Regions from separate parts of the Homo sapiens genome. Here region 1 is linked to region 2. The links are contacts of gene promoters, found by promoter capture Hi-C in human tissues and cell types (Jung and others, 2019). All regions are on one chromosome and are shown on one strand. The core of a region is centred on a gene start or on the middle of the fragment in contact, and the rest is flanking DNA. Distances in the headings are between cores, read along the strand shown.

Evidence for each region. The method cuts DNA at HindIII sites, captures the fragments that hold promoters and counts their contacts. A contact is called where the count stands out against the background at its distance.
Region 1: a contact is called between a fragment that was not itself captured here and the fragment with the promoter of CCR9 in region 2, in 2 of the 25 tissues and cell types used here (mesenchymal stem cells and spleen).

The regions. Positions count from the first base shown.
Region 1 is chr3:45,776,049-45,782,191 of GRCh38, forward strand. It overlaps SLC6A20 (solute carrier family 6 member 20), which reads right to left. Exons shown (of 11, transcript NM_020208.4): 2 at 6,035-6,143; 3 at 3,961-4,052. Among named protein-coding and RNA genes, the nearest start is that of SLC6A20, 17 kb to the right of the region's middle. The HindIII fragment of the contact is 5,169 bases long and covers 1-4,087 here.
Region 2 is chr3:45,884,945-45,890,782 of GRCh38, forward strand. CCR9 (C-C motif chemokine receptor 9) reads left to right here and starts at 1,599. Exons shown (of 3, transcript NM_031200.3): 1 at 1,599-1,711. It also overlaps a transcript of LZTFL1 not described here. RefSeq lists a promoter at 615-1,614. The HindIII fragment of the contact is 3,685 bases long and covers 1-2,728 here.

The sequences.
Region 1 (6,143 bases), core at 253-2,752, 110 kb before region 2:
GGGGTGAGGGAGGTGGCCCTGAGCGGAGACTCTTGGAAGAGAAGGGTGCTGGTCCCCGAAGGGCAGGTGGCTGGAGCCCCTGAAGGCAGACTGGGAGTTGGAGAGTTTGTCAGGGGGCACGGGTGAGGCAGGAAGGGGTTGGAGGAGGGGGCTCTACTCTCGTTGCAATTCTACGGGTGTTCCTTGAGGACTACTGAACTCTGTGGTGGGTCCCAGAGACTGAATAGCAAATGGACCACAGCCAGGCCAGCCCTGATGATGGAACTCCGACCCACGGCCTGTGCACAATCAGCTCAGGCACTTAAACCACACCCTCTGCAGCACTGGCCCAGATTGCTTAGGACTTGGTCAATGATTGAGAGAGTCCCTATTTTTTGGCCAACTCAGAACCAACCAGAGAAAGTGACAGAGAGCCCAGTTCAGAGTAGCTTAAGCAGATGAGAGTCTTACTGGCTCCACCCTGCAAAGTCCAGGAGTCTAACTGCTTCAGGTATAGCTTGACTCTAGCTCAAAGAAGTCACCAGCACCAGGTTCTCTCGGGCTCAGACATGCAGGACAGCTGTGGGGCCTGAACCTCATCTCCTGCTAGCTTCCAAACCCAATGTACATTGCAGGAAATGCCATTCGCCACCAGCACTTAGTGAGCACAGAACCTGAGACTTACGCATCTCAGGACTTGAGGAAATCAGCAAAGACCACCCAAGTGAGAACAAGCAGAGGCTGTTTACTTAGGACTTGCTACAGCAAGGGCGATAGCAGCATCGCTTGCATTTGGCGGGGCTCCAAGGCAGGCGGGGATTGGGAAAGCTTGTTAGTGAGAAAAGAGAAGGCTCCAGGTGTGCCCCCATAGGAGGCTGCTGGCGTGTCACTTATGAACAAAGGAGCCTCAATGGTGCATGCATCATGACCATGACCCGAGGCCAAGTGGTAAACAGTGGTGCTGAGATGGGAGGGAGGGGAGGAAAAGTTACTTCTGACTGTGGGGTAGGAGACCCCAACCCTGCTCTTTGAGGACCAGCCCCACATTGATCAGTTTTGCACATATCTGGGTTCTACAAGCCCAGATTTAATTAGACAAAAACGCATCATTAATGGAAGCAAGTCTGACCACCCCACTGGGCTCAATCCCATATTTCACAGGAGACAGAACCAAGGCCCGGGGTATCACCTAATGGGTCATGGCTACTGTGCCAGTAGGCAGCTGGAGCCCAGGTCTGCACACCCAGACAGTGCTCAGGACTGTCCTGGTGAGGACCTCCACGCCCACCCCTGCAATACCTCCCCAGGCCACCCTAGCCTATTGGAATGTGTGAGCTGGTTTCTTGCTTTGACCCATATCGTGTTCAAAGCTGGCCACCAACAGTCCTTCCCCTTCCCATGTGCACATTTCTCCCATCCAGAAGTGGTGTCTCTTGCCTCAGCCTGTGAGTCTGGGCTGTCCTCCGATGCAAGCTGACCAACTGAATATGGTGAAGAGATGCTGTGTGAGTGACTTCCCGGCCCAGGACTTCAGAACCCTGTAGCTAGCCTCTCACCCTCTTGGAGACCAGCTGTGGGACATCCAGGCTAGCTTCCTGAATGATGCGGGTGCAGGGAGAGGGAGGCACGTGGAGGGAACTGAGGTGCCCAGTGGCAGCCAGCACCAAGTCCCAGGCAGGTGACAGGGGTCCTGGTAGACCTGAAGCCCAGTTGAGCTGCCTAGGCTGACATCCCCTTGGGCCATTTACAGCCTGTGTGGGACTGACCTGAGTCTGTTCCCTGGACTACCTGCTGATGCCAGACCGGGCCTGCTTCCCAGGCTTGGCTACACGACTAAGGCACCCGGGGGTGATGCCCAGGCTGCACCCCCAGTGACTCTGATTTCATCTGTTTGGGATAGGGCCTGGTCATTGGATTTTTCACACCTCCCCACCCTGCACCCCGCACCCCGCAACTTCATCTCCCCAGTGTGCAGCCAGGTTGAAGAAGGTTTAGCGTATAGGAGAACTTGTTAAATGGGCCAGTTCCCAGTCTGACCTCCCTCACTCACCTCTGAACCAGCAGGTGAGGACAAGGATCCCCGCATTTGTGTGCATAACAGCCCAGGTGCTCCTGCTGAGAAGGGCTGGACACAAGGCTGGAAAGCCTGGCCAGGGAGTGAGTAGACAGGAGCACAGACTCCGGGGCCAGGTCCCTGAGTCCAACCCCACCAGCTATGAGCTACTCGGCTCCCCTCTGCTCGGGTGCTCAGTGTGCTCAGCCTCGTGGGGTGGCTGTTTTGATTACATGAGTGAACACTTCTAAAGTGCTGGGACCTATGTCTGGCCCAAAGCACATGTAAGTGAATGTCTGCAGCTACTATTCCTCTCATTATTATGGGACCATGGAGGAGGGCTTCAAAGTAGAGGGACTAAGGGATAAGTCCACAGACCTATGAAGGATGGAATGAATGAATATTTAAGTGATTTTCATGAATCGCTGGCCCCCATACTTCTGACTATTAGAAAAAGATGCCCCTTTCTTGAGGCACTTTATTTTTGCTTTTGGGGGATGAGCAAATTATTCTGATTTTGTTAGGACAAGACACATTACTTCCACTTTTGGAAACTTGTCTTAATAAGTATACAAATCTATAATGCTTACAATGTGTATGGCAAGCCCTTAGTTGGCAGTACTGTTGTGCAGTGCACAAGCTGCCCAACCATACATGAGCCCTGCACAGAGGACAGGAAACAGTCACCAGGCTATAGAGTAAGAAGAGTTGCCCTGTTTCCACTGAGAAGGCTGGGGAGAGGCAGAGTTGTGGCCAGTGTTCATGAAACTCTAGGTTGAACCAGGGAAAGAAGGAGGGACTGCAACTAAGCTCAGGTTACAGCTTTCTTGCCAGAGATACGTGCAATGGGGCAAGCTTGGTGGAGCTCATTGGGAAGCCAGAGTGGGGTATGCCAAATCAGGATTATTAAAGTCATTCACCCAAGCATTCCTCACGCCCCCACAGAGTCAAGGCTATGCCCAAGCACCCCAGAGGCAAACCCAGTTCAGTCCATAGTCCATGCCAGCCCTATCTTGCTTGCGGACCTTGGGGACAGGCATGTCCCATGAAGGCCTGGCTCAGGGGCAAAGGGTAAGGCATTGGCCTGGTTAGCTCCTGCCTCCTCCACTGTTCCCAACTGGGAAGAAGCCAAGGTGAAGGTGGTTCCTGGAAGCAGGTGGGGGCAGTGGAGGATGGGGTTCCTGAGAGTGAAACGGTAGGAGCCAGGTAACAGAAATGAGCATGAGCAGTGGAAAGGAAAATTCCTCTTGTCCTGAATGTACACCAGCTCTCTGTGTGGAATTGGAGTTCTTGCTTCTCTACAATTCTAGCCCCTTCCACTTTTCTACAGAGTGTCAGCTGTAGTTATCATCAGAAATGTGTGGTTTAAAATGTTTAGGAATGGCCCTATTGTGTTACAGGGTGACAATGGTCCTTCTAGGAGAACTTAGGGGTCTGCAGGGAAAAGAAGAGGCTCAGGCTGGAGTCAGAAACCTGGAAGCACGAGTGGCCCTGAGGAAAGCGGGAGAAGGGGACGGGGAGGAAGAGGACAGGCCGTTGCTGTCTTGCTGGATTGAGGGAATCCCTCCCCACCAGTCCTCTCCACAGATTTCCTCCTAGGCACACTGTGCAGTAGTTCTTAATAGTGTGTGTGTGGGGTCACATCCATCAGAGAGAATCCACTGAAAGCCATGGACCTTCTCTCCAAGAACACGCACACTCTCACCGGTGGACTCTTGCTTACAGCGTAAGGGGCCCGTGGAGCCCGGGTTCAGAAGCCCTTCACGTGGTTTGGGGTGCATGGCTTCCCCTCCACCTCACACCACCCACCGGCTCCCCGCCCCGAGGCTGCTCACCTTGCCCCACACCCCCTTCCCCGAGCGGGTGGCCCTGTTTTTCTCTCCCTTTCTCGCTCCTACTCCTGTTCTGGCACGGGCCCCCCGGCTCACCTGGAAGGAGTGGAAGAGGTACCAGAAGGCCCAGGCGTTGATGACGTTGTAGTACATGGAGAGGAAGAAAGAGACCACCACGCTGGCGACCCCTGCGAGGAAGCAGAGGGCCGCGCTGAGGACTGAGGATGGCCCTTCCCCCTCCGCCAGGCCCAGCGTGTGCTCCCAGGACACACCTGTGGCGACCGCCCCGGGGTGGGCGAGGCCTCCCTCCACCAGGTTTGTGTGGTGAGTATTAAGCGAGACCAGGCACCTGTGAACACTTGGGAAGGGTGATTTCTTTTTCTCCAACCTCCCTCCTCACCTTCTGGGACAGGAGGCTGATGACATGTTTTTGAGATCTAACTGCCAGGCACTGTGCTAAATAAGTACTTTATTTACCTTTGGTCCTTACAACAGTATTATCTTCATATCGCAGAAGAGAAAACTGAGGCCTGGAGCCTGCCCAAGACTACCCGGCTGTTAAGTGGCAGAACTGGGTTCACAACCTCATGCTGTGAGAAGCACTGTTGCTGTGAAGTGCTACCTTGTCCAGATGTACAGTTATGCTCCCTCCTTGGCTCACCAGCGGTTGAGTCACCTGGTAGCCAGGAGAGGGGGTGTGAGGAGGCGGTGGGGAGGGGGCTGCCCGTAATTCGGTCAGGCCTGCACAAAACCCAGGGTGCGGCCTGAGAGCACAGAGAGGGGTGGGAGGCAGCAGGGCTCTGGGGCTGGCCCACACCAGCCCTTGAGAACCAGCGTCCCCTCCTCTCCCCAGCCGCAAGTGCTGGGACACTCGGTAGTAGAAACCGGCCATGGTGCCTGTATTTACCCCATAGGCATCCGCAAATGCTATAAACCAGGGCTTCCCCTCCCCACCCCCACTCCACTCTGAGCACTGGTTGTTAAATATTCACCAGCATCCCCTGGTTGGCACAAATATCTGGTATCTTTCCTATGATGCAGAAGATGCCTCTGAGAAGTCCTCTGTGATTGCTTATTCAGGCAGATTGTAAAACTACACACTTCTGTGTTAAAAATTAATAGCCTAGCGAAACCCCATCTCTACTAAAAATACAAAAAATTAGCCAGGTGTGGTGGCGGGTGCCTGTAATTCCAGCTCATCAGGAGGCTGAGGCAGGAGAAACGGTTGAATCCGGGAGTGGAGGTTGCAGTGAGCCGAGATTGTGCCATTGCACTCCAGCCTGGGCAATAAGAGCGAAACTCCGCCTCAAAAAAAAAAAAAAATTAATAGCCATTCAAGACAAGGAGGCAGTCTGGGTTTGGAGATGATTTGTGAGAACACTGGACACATTTCTTCTGCATCTGCAACCAGGTCACATATAAGCTTCCACCCTCTTTGCTCCTGAAACGTCACTCTGCTTTCCTGCCTGCCTTCCTTTCTGGGGTGGGAGGGGTGAGCATCACAGGCTATGGCTACTTCTGGTCAGGGTTCCTTCTGCATGCAGAGGCAGCCCTGGGTCATAAGCAATGTGCAGGGCAGGTGGAGGTTGTCCTGGAAGTGCCTGGGGCTCTGGCTCAAGGTCACTCAGGAGAAGCATGAGATGAAACAGTCCTCTCCTGCTGTCCGTGCGGGCCTCAGCTTCCGCACCCCAGAGACATTAATGGCACTCCACAACACCTCAGCGGTGTAAAGAAGATTAAATGAGCTCATGCACATATATCCTATAGGCTGGCTCCCAGCATGTAGTAGGTGCTTGCTAAAAGAGAGCTGTTATTTAGCAGGGAGAAGTTGGTGAGTTTCCAGAATGGTTGTTAGCTAGGACTTGGAGTTACAGCTGTTTCCCTTTTACAGGTGACCAAGCTGAGGTCCAGAGAAGAGAAGGAGGGTGGCATCTGTTCCCCAAGGGGCATGCATCCTCCCTGTCTTACCGCCCTGTGGGTAGGAAACCCAGCTCCTCTCAGCCCACATTCTATGTCATCCCCACCAGGCCATTTGTTCACCCCAGGCAAGAGCTCTCTCTTGGGCCTTGTGCTCGCCCCTTGATCCAGCAGCTTTGCTGATGGGATCCCACCCACACCCCCATGCTGCCCGGGTCTCTGGGTGGGAGAGGACTGGAGGGGCCCCACGTACCGACACCACTGAGGTACGGGCTGATGGTCCTCCAGGCGCCGATGCTGCCCTGCCGCATGCGCTGCCCCACAGCCAGTTCCAGGTACAAGAGCGGCATTCCCTCCACGAT
Region 2 (5,838 bases), core at 349-2,848:
TGCAATGAGCGCCCGCCGAGGGAAGGGAATTTCACGGCTCCCTCGCACCGCCGTTCCTTAAGGCTGATGAATCAGACACCTCTTTCGTTCTTACTGTGCATGCCCTCTACCTTTCAGATGACCTATTTGTTGGCCTTTTTCCATTTAGACAATAAACCCAAGTGCACCTTCTGCATCCCTTTGCTCTACGGGAACTGAGGGTGATGAAGGGGACATGCGCCTGGGAGTACCACGCCATGACAGAGCGGCATTGAGTCCTCGGGACAATCAATACACCAAGAGGTGGAAATTAACATCCACAAGAGTGTAGTCATGATTTTCCCCCAGAACAAATATATAAAAGGGATCTTTGTCATAACAATGACAGGAAATCATTAATCACATCAGGATTGAAGTCCCCACTGTAGCAGTGGATGGGAAGACTTCGTCTGTGATCTTCATTAAAAATGCAATATTTTGTATATTTAGCTTTTTTCAAAGTTTTACCAAAACACCTGTAATTAATACAATTTATTGTATTATCTTTGTTAATGTATCTGATGTGCAAAACCTTACTAGATTTGCCCCAATTTGAAGGTGTCTGTGGCTTTCCAGCACTCCATGTGTTCCTAGCTACATCTCACAGGCAGACTTTCTAAAGCAGTGCCTTTCAATAGCACTGTTGGCGACGATGGACAGGTTCTGTATCTGCATTGTCCATTGGGATAGCCACTAGCTGCATGTGGCTATTGAGCACTTGAAATGTACCTGGCATGACTGAGAAACTAGTTAACACTTAAAACATTTTTCTTTTTTGATACAGGGTCTCAGTCTGTTGCCCAGGGTGGAGTGCAGTGGTGCAATCTTGGCTCACTACAACCTCTGCCTCCTGATCCTTCCACCTCAGCTTCCCTGAGTATCTGGGACTACAGGCATGGGCCACCATGCCTGCCTAATTGTTTTTGTGTGTTTTGTAGAGATGAGGTTTCACCATGTTGTCCAGGCTGTTCTTGAACTCCTAGGCTCTGCCTAGTGATCTGCCCGCCTCAGTCTCTCAGAGTGCTGGGACTACAGAGGTGAGCCACTGCACTGGCCCTAGTTAGCATTTTAATTAATTTGAATTTAAATAGGCACATCTGCCTAGTAGCTACTGTGTTGGATAGCACAGCCCTCCGGGTTCTGGTACGTCTGTCAAGGCCAGAAAAGGTATGTTGCGATGGATAGTGCTACATCTGCCACTGGGTGGTAATCTGATACAGGCCTGCTCAGGTGACACCACCTAAAGAAATCTCATCAGTGTGCACCTCTGGCAAGCCTGACAAGGCTGACTTCTCTCGATGGGATCCTCCAATTTCCCCATTCCCTGTAAGCAGCTGTGCTGTCTAGGAAGAGAATTTGCTCTTAGATCATCAGTCTGTATGTGCGTCTTCAGATGAGACAGTTTCCCCTTATCCCAGCAGTTTTCAGCTTTTTGTTTCTGGTTGCAAATGATTGACTCCGCTGATTGCTGGAAGCTACACAGGTGACTCCCCACCCTCTTGGGCTACCCCACCAGTGACAACACAGGCAGGGGTGGCCTGGCTTCCTTTCTCGTGTTGTTATCGGGTAGCTGCCTGCTCAGAACCCACAAAGCCTGCCCCTCATCCCAGGCAGAGAGCAACCCAGCTCTTTCCCCAGACACTGAGAGCTGGTGGTGCCTGCTGTCCCAGGGAGAGTTGCATCGCCCTCCACAGTGAGTATTGCTCTTCTTCTTGTTGCCCCCAACCCAGTGTCATCTTGGCCCTCAGTTGTGTGCTGCTATGATGGCTTCTAAAACCTGGGCTTGCACTCATTTGTTCAGAGGTCATGGGCACCAGGCACTTTTCTAGAAACTTCCAGGAAGGTAAATGGGAATTGGTGATGCCCAACCCAGGTTTCTTGTAGGGCGAGTAATAAAACTCCCTCCCCCTTCACATACATGAAGCTTAGGCTTAAGGCAGTCTGTGATTTATACCTTAAAGGAAGGAGAAGCAGGTGCTGGGGGACAAGATGGTGGCCAGGGGTAAAGGACACACCCATGAGGTCCTTGAGTCTGAGACACTGCCCCATGGAAAGGATTCTTTGTAGCAGTGAAAAACTGGAAACAAGGAAACTATGCATCAGGAGGCGAATGGTTAAATGAATTGTGATGTATCTAGACAATGGAATACACAGCAGCCATCCAATTCTATGATACGGTTCTATGTTGAATTGGCATGGAAGGTGATCCATGAAAGATGGGCAATTAGAAAGCAAGATAGAAGATTATATGTGTAGTCTGATTTCCTTTCTATTAAGTGCGTGTGTGTCTGTGTGTGTGTGTGTGTGTGTGTGAGGTTGTGTTACAGAGAAAAAGTCAGAAAGGAAGTATCTCAGAAACTTAACAATGGCTAAACTAGGAAAGGGTGCTTCAGGAGTTTTTATTTTCTATATTATGTATGTTGGCATTTTGGGGATTTTTTGTGCATTGTAAAAATACTCCTTTATGATCAGAGTAAAGCAAAAAGTTATTTTAAATGACTCATCAGTGGATGCTGGTTTGCCTTTTCAAACACACCTACCCTCTTTAGTTCTGAATTAGCTGTTACTCCATAGACGGCTGGCAAGTCCATCCAGAGAGTGGTCACTGTGTGCTGAACCGGAAGGGCTGTGCAGCAGCCAGTCTGTGGGATCCCATCTCCTTACTCCCTTTCCTGAACGAGCAAAAGCTAATTTACTATTTCAGCATCTGGAATTTCGGAGTCCTTTTCTTCCAATATCTGCTTATCTGTTCTGAAGCCTCTTTGTGTAGGCCTCACTCACAGGCTTGTGTTGGGAGCCCCTGGGCCCTGTGCAGCCCCTGCTGGGCGGTTGGCAGGCATCTGATCCAGGCATGGTGAGTGGATGGATCTGATAGATGGCTCAGAGACCCTGCCTCGTGTAGGGAACAAAAAGCAGAGCTATGAAAAAATGTAAGAGATGATTCAAGCTCCGTGTAGCAAATTGTACAAAGTTCAAAGTAAGGACCTGCATTCCTGACTCATGTTAGTATCTGATTTGATGTTAGTGCTGTAAGCATCAGAGGCTATAAGTGTGGGGAGATGCTGTGTGCACAATAACCCCATGCTGATTTTCATGTTGGCTACGTAAGAATGTTAGAGAATACAAAAATAGTGATTGGATAATAATAGGTTCCAAGCTAACTTTTCTAATAGGCACTTTTCTCTTTTGGAGAATTAGCAGCTCTCTCCCTTCCTTTATCTCCCAGGTCCCTGCACATACCCCATGCTTTCTGACTTTCATGCCTTAGTGCATATGTTTTCCCACCCTGGAGCAATGTTCCCTCCCCTCGTTGCATGTCTCCATGCTCTTCGGCCTTCAAGGACCCGCAAAAATGTCACCTCTTCAATGAAGCCCTCCTGGATTCTCCCCAGAGCTAAAGACATGACCTCCTTCTTCCAATTCCTACCACAACTCATAGCACTTTCCCTTTGTTGTTATTTGCAGCCATGACTTACTCAGTGTATTTGAATGCAAGCTTCTTGAGGACATGGATCATGTCTTACACATTGTTTAAGCCAAATAAATGTATCAGGTACTCAAGGCACATTGAATAAGTGGGTTCGATGGATGGCCCATGGCACCTGCAACAAGGCCTCACTGAGCAGCAAGGGAGAGATTTGCCACAGTGCTGAGTCAACTGCCCATCCACTCCCGACAGACCGCTGAGATGGTCCTCACTCTCAGTATGTTTGGTCATATGTGGGATTTTCCCCCCTATATTTTTCCCGCTTTCTCACTGGCAAGACAAAAATGAAAGCAAGCACTGAGACTTAGTAGCTGGGAGAATAAAATATTTGAGAAGTATTCTGACAAAAATGAAAGAGAAATAGATGGCAAGGCTGTCTGTGGAGGTTCTAGATGTGGGCTCTAGGGAGGGGTATGTCCTGTTTTTACTCTTTGGCTCTCTCCAAATTTTCTATGAGCCAGAAGCAGATGCATATTTTATAAACTGTAATATATTACATTCTATTATACACCATAATATATTACATGATATATACTATTTGTTTATTTATTTTAGAGACAGGGTCTTGCTCTGTCACTCAGGCTGCAGTGCAGCAGTGCAATGTTAGCTCACTTCAGCCTTGAACTCCTGGGTTCAAGCGATTGTCCTGCGTCAGCCAGCTGAGTAGCTGGGACTACAGGGTAGGCAACCATGCCTGGCATATTTTTAAATTTTTTGTAGAGATGGGGTCTTGCTCTGTTGCCCAGGCTGATCTCAAATTCCTGGCCTCAAGTGATGCTCCCACCTCAGCCTCCCAAAGTGTTGGAATTACAGGCATGAGCCATCTTGCCTGGCTTGTGTTTATATATTACCTTTAAAAAAAAAAATAAAGAGAAACCTTTATAGAAAGCTAGTGTACAACTTAGTTGCATAAAGTAGCCTCGGTGAATGTAATTACTAGACTTGCTCTTTCTGCGGTAGCTGGAGCAGGCTACAAGTTCCTCCTCTAGATGAGTTTTGTAAACAGGTGTGCTGAACGTTAGAGCATTGGGCTTCTTCTTCTTTTTTTTTTAAATCTGACAAGTTATTTTTATGACAGCTCTTAAAATAAAATTTTACACACTTGGTAAGATATTTAAATAGTTTGCAAAATCTAAATGAAAACATGAAAGTTCATTTTCCACTGGTCACAGTGGTTCAGTCTCCTTCCAGAAAATGTTTCGGTGCTGGTGAGCAGTGCAGTGTATGTCTTTTTCTATTTTTTTTTTTTTAAAGATCACACAACATAAGTCTTCCTACATGTTGCATTTTAATCTTATAGTCTTGAGGACCTCTTTTCTATCAGCATGAGGACCATCCTTGTTTATTGGCTACACATGGTTTATTGGATTGATGTGTCATAATATTACCAATTGCTGAATATTTAAGTTGTTTTCCAATTTTTGTTCTGCTCCAACATATATCCCTATACCTGGACCCTTGTGTTCTTTTGTGAGAATACCAGTAGGGCAAATTCCAAGCAGATGCGCTGCAGAGTCAGAGATGTTGTGCTTTGTAAATTTTGACAGATATGGCTTAACCCTCCAAAAAGATCACATAAATTTATACTCCTCACAGCAGTGTGGAGGCCTTTTTTCCAAACTCTTACCAATGTCGTTACCATCTATTGCTATTTCCAATCTGAAACTTGCTGTCACTCACTATAACAAAGCCATTCTTTCTTCTTTTTGTGGTTTCTTTCTTTGGGAATTTTTCTCAGGTATTACATGATTAATATTCAGTCCTTTCATGCAAGCAAAAAGGAGGTGACATAAGCCCTGGGTATTAGAAATATATATATAACATATATATATATTTATATAAATATATATATAACATATATATATATTTATATAAATATATATATAACATATATATATAACATATATATATATATAACATATATAAAGTGTTTTCTAATTGATATCTCAAAAATCAACCTCCGTATTCCCCAAGCTGTAATAAAATAAAATTTGCTGAGTTGAGGTCTTCCAAACTCAACTGGGCATTTTTCATCTGGGGCAAAAAAAAGAAGAGTAATGCTCAGCTCCAAAGTGGCTGCTTTTCTGCTTGCTGGGTGAGTTTCTTATTTCAAAACAGAGGCTCACTGGGCTTCTTGATGGCACCTGGAGTCATGCCAAGCAGGAAGCAATCACTCCACAGAGCTGAAGATGTCAGAACCGTTCAGAAATACTGCCTGGGGAAAGTTCTTGGTTCTTCGGCTTAGGAGGAAAGGGGCAGAATACAACCTTTCTGAAGAAAATGCATCTTTCATTCACCTGAGAAATATTTCAAAATAACTATAAAAAGAAGTT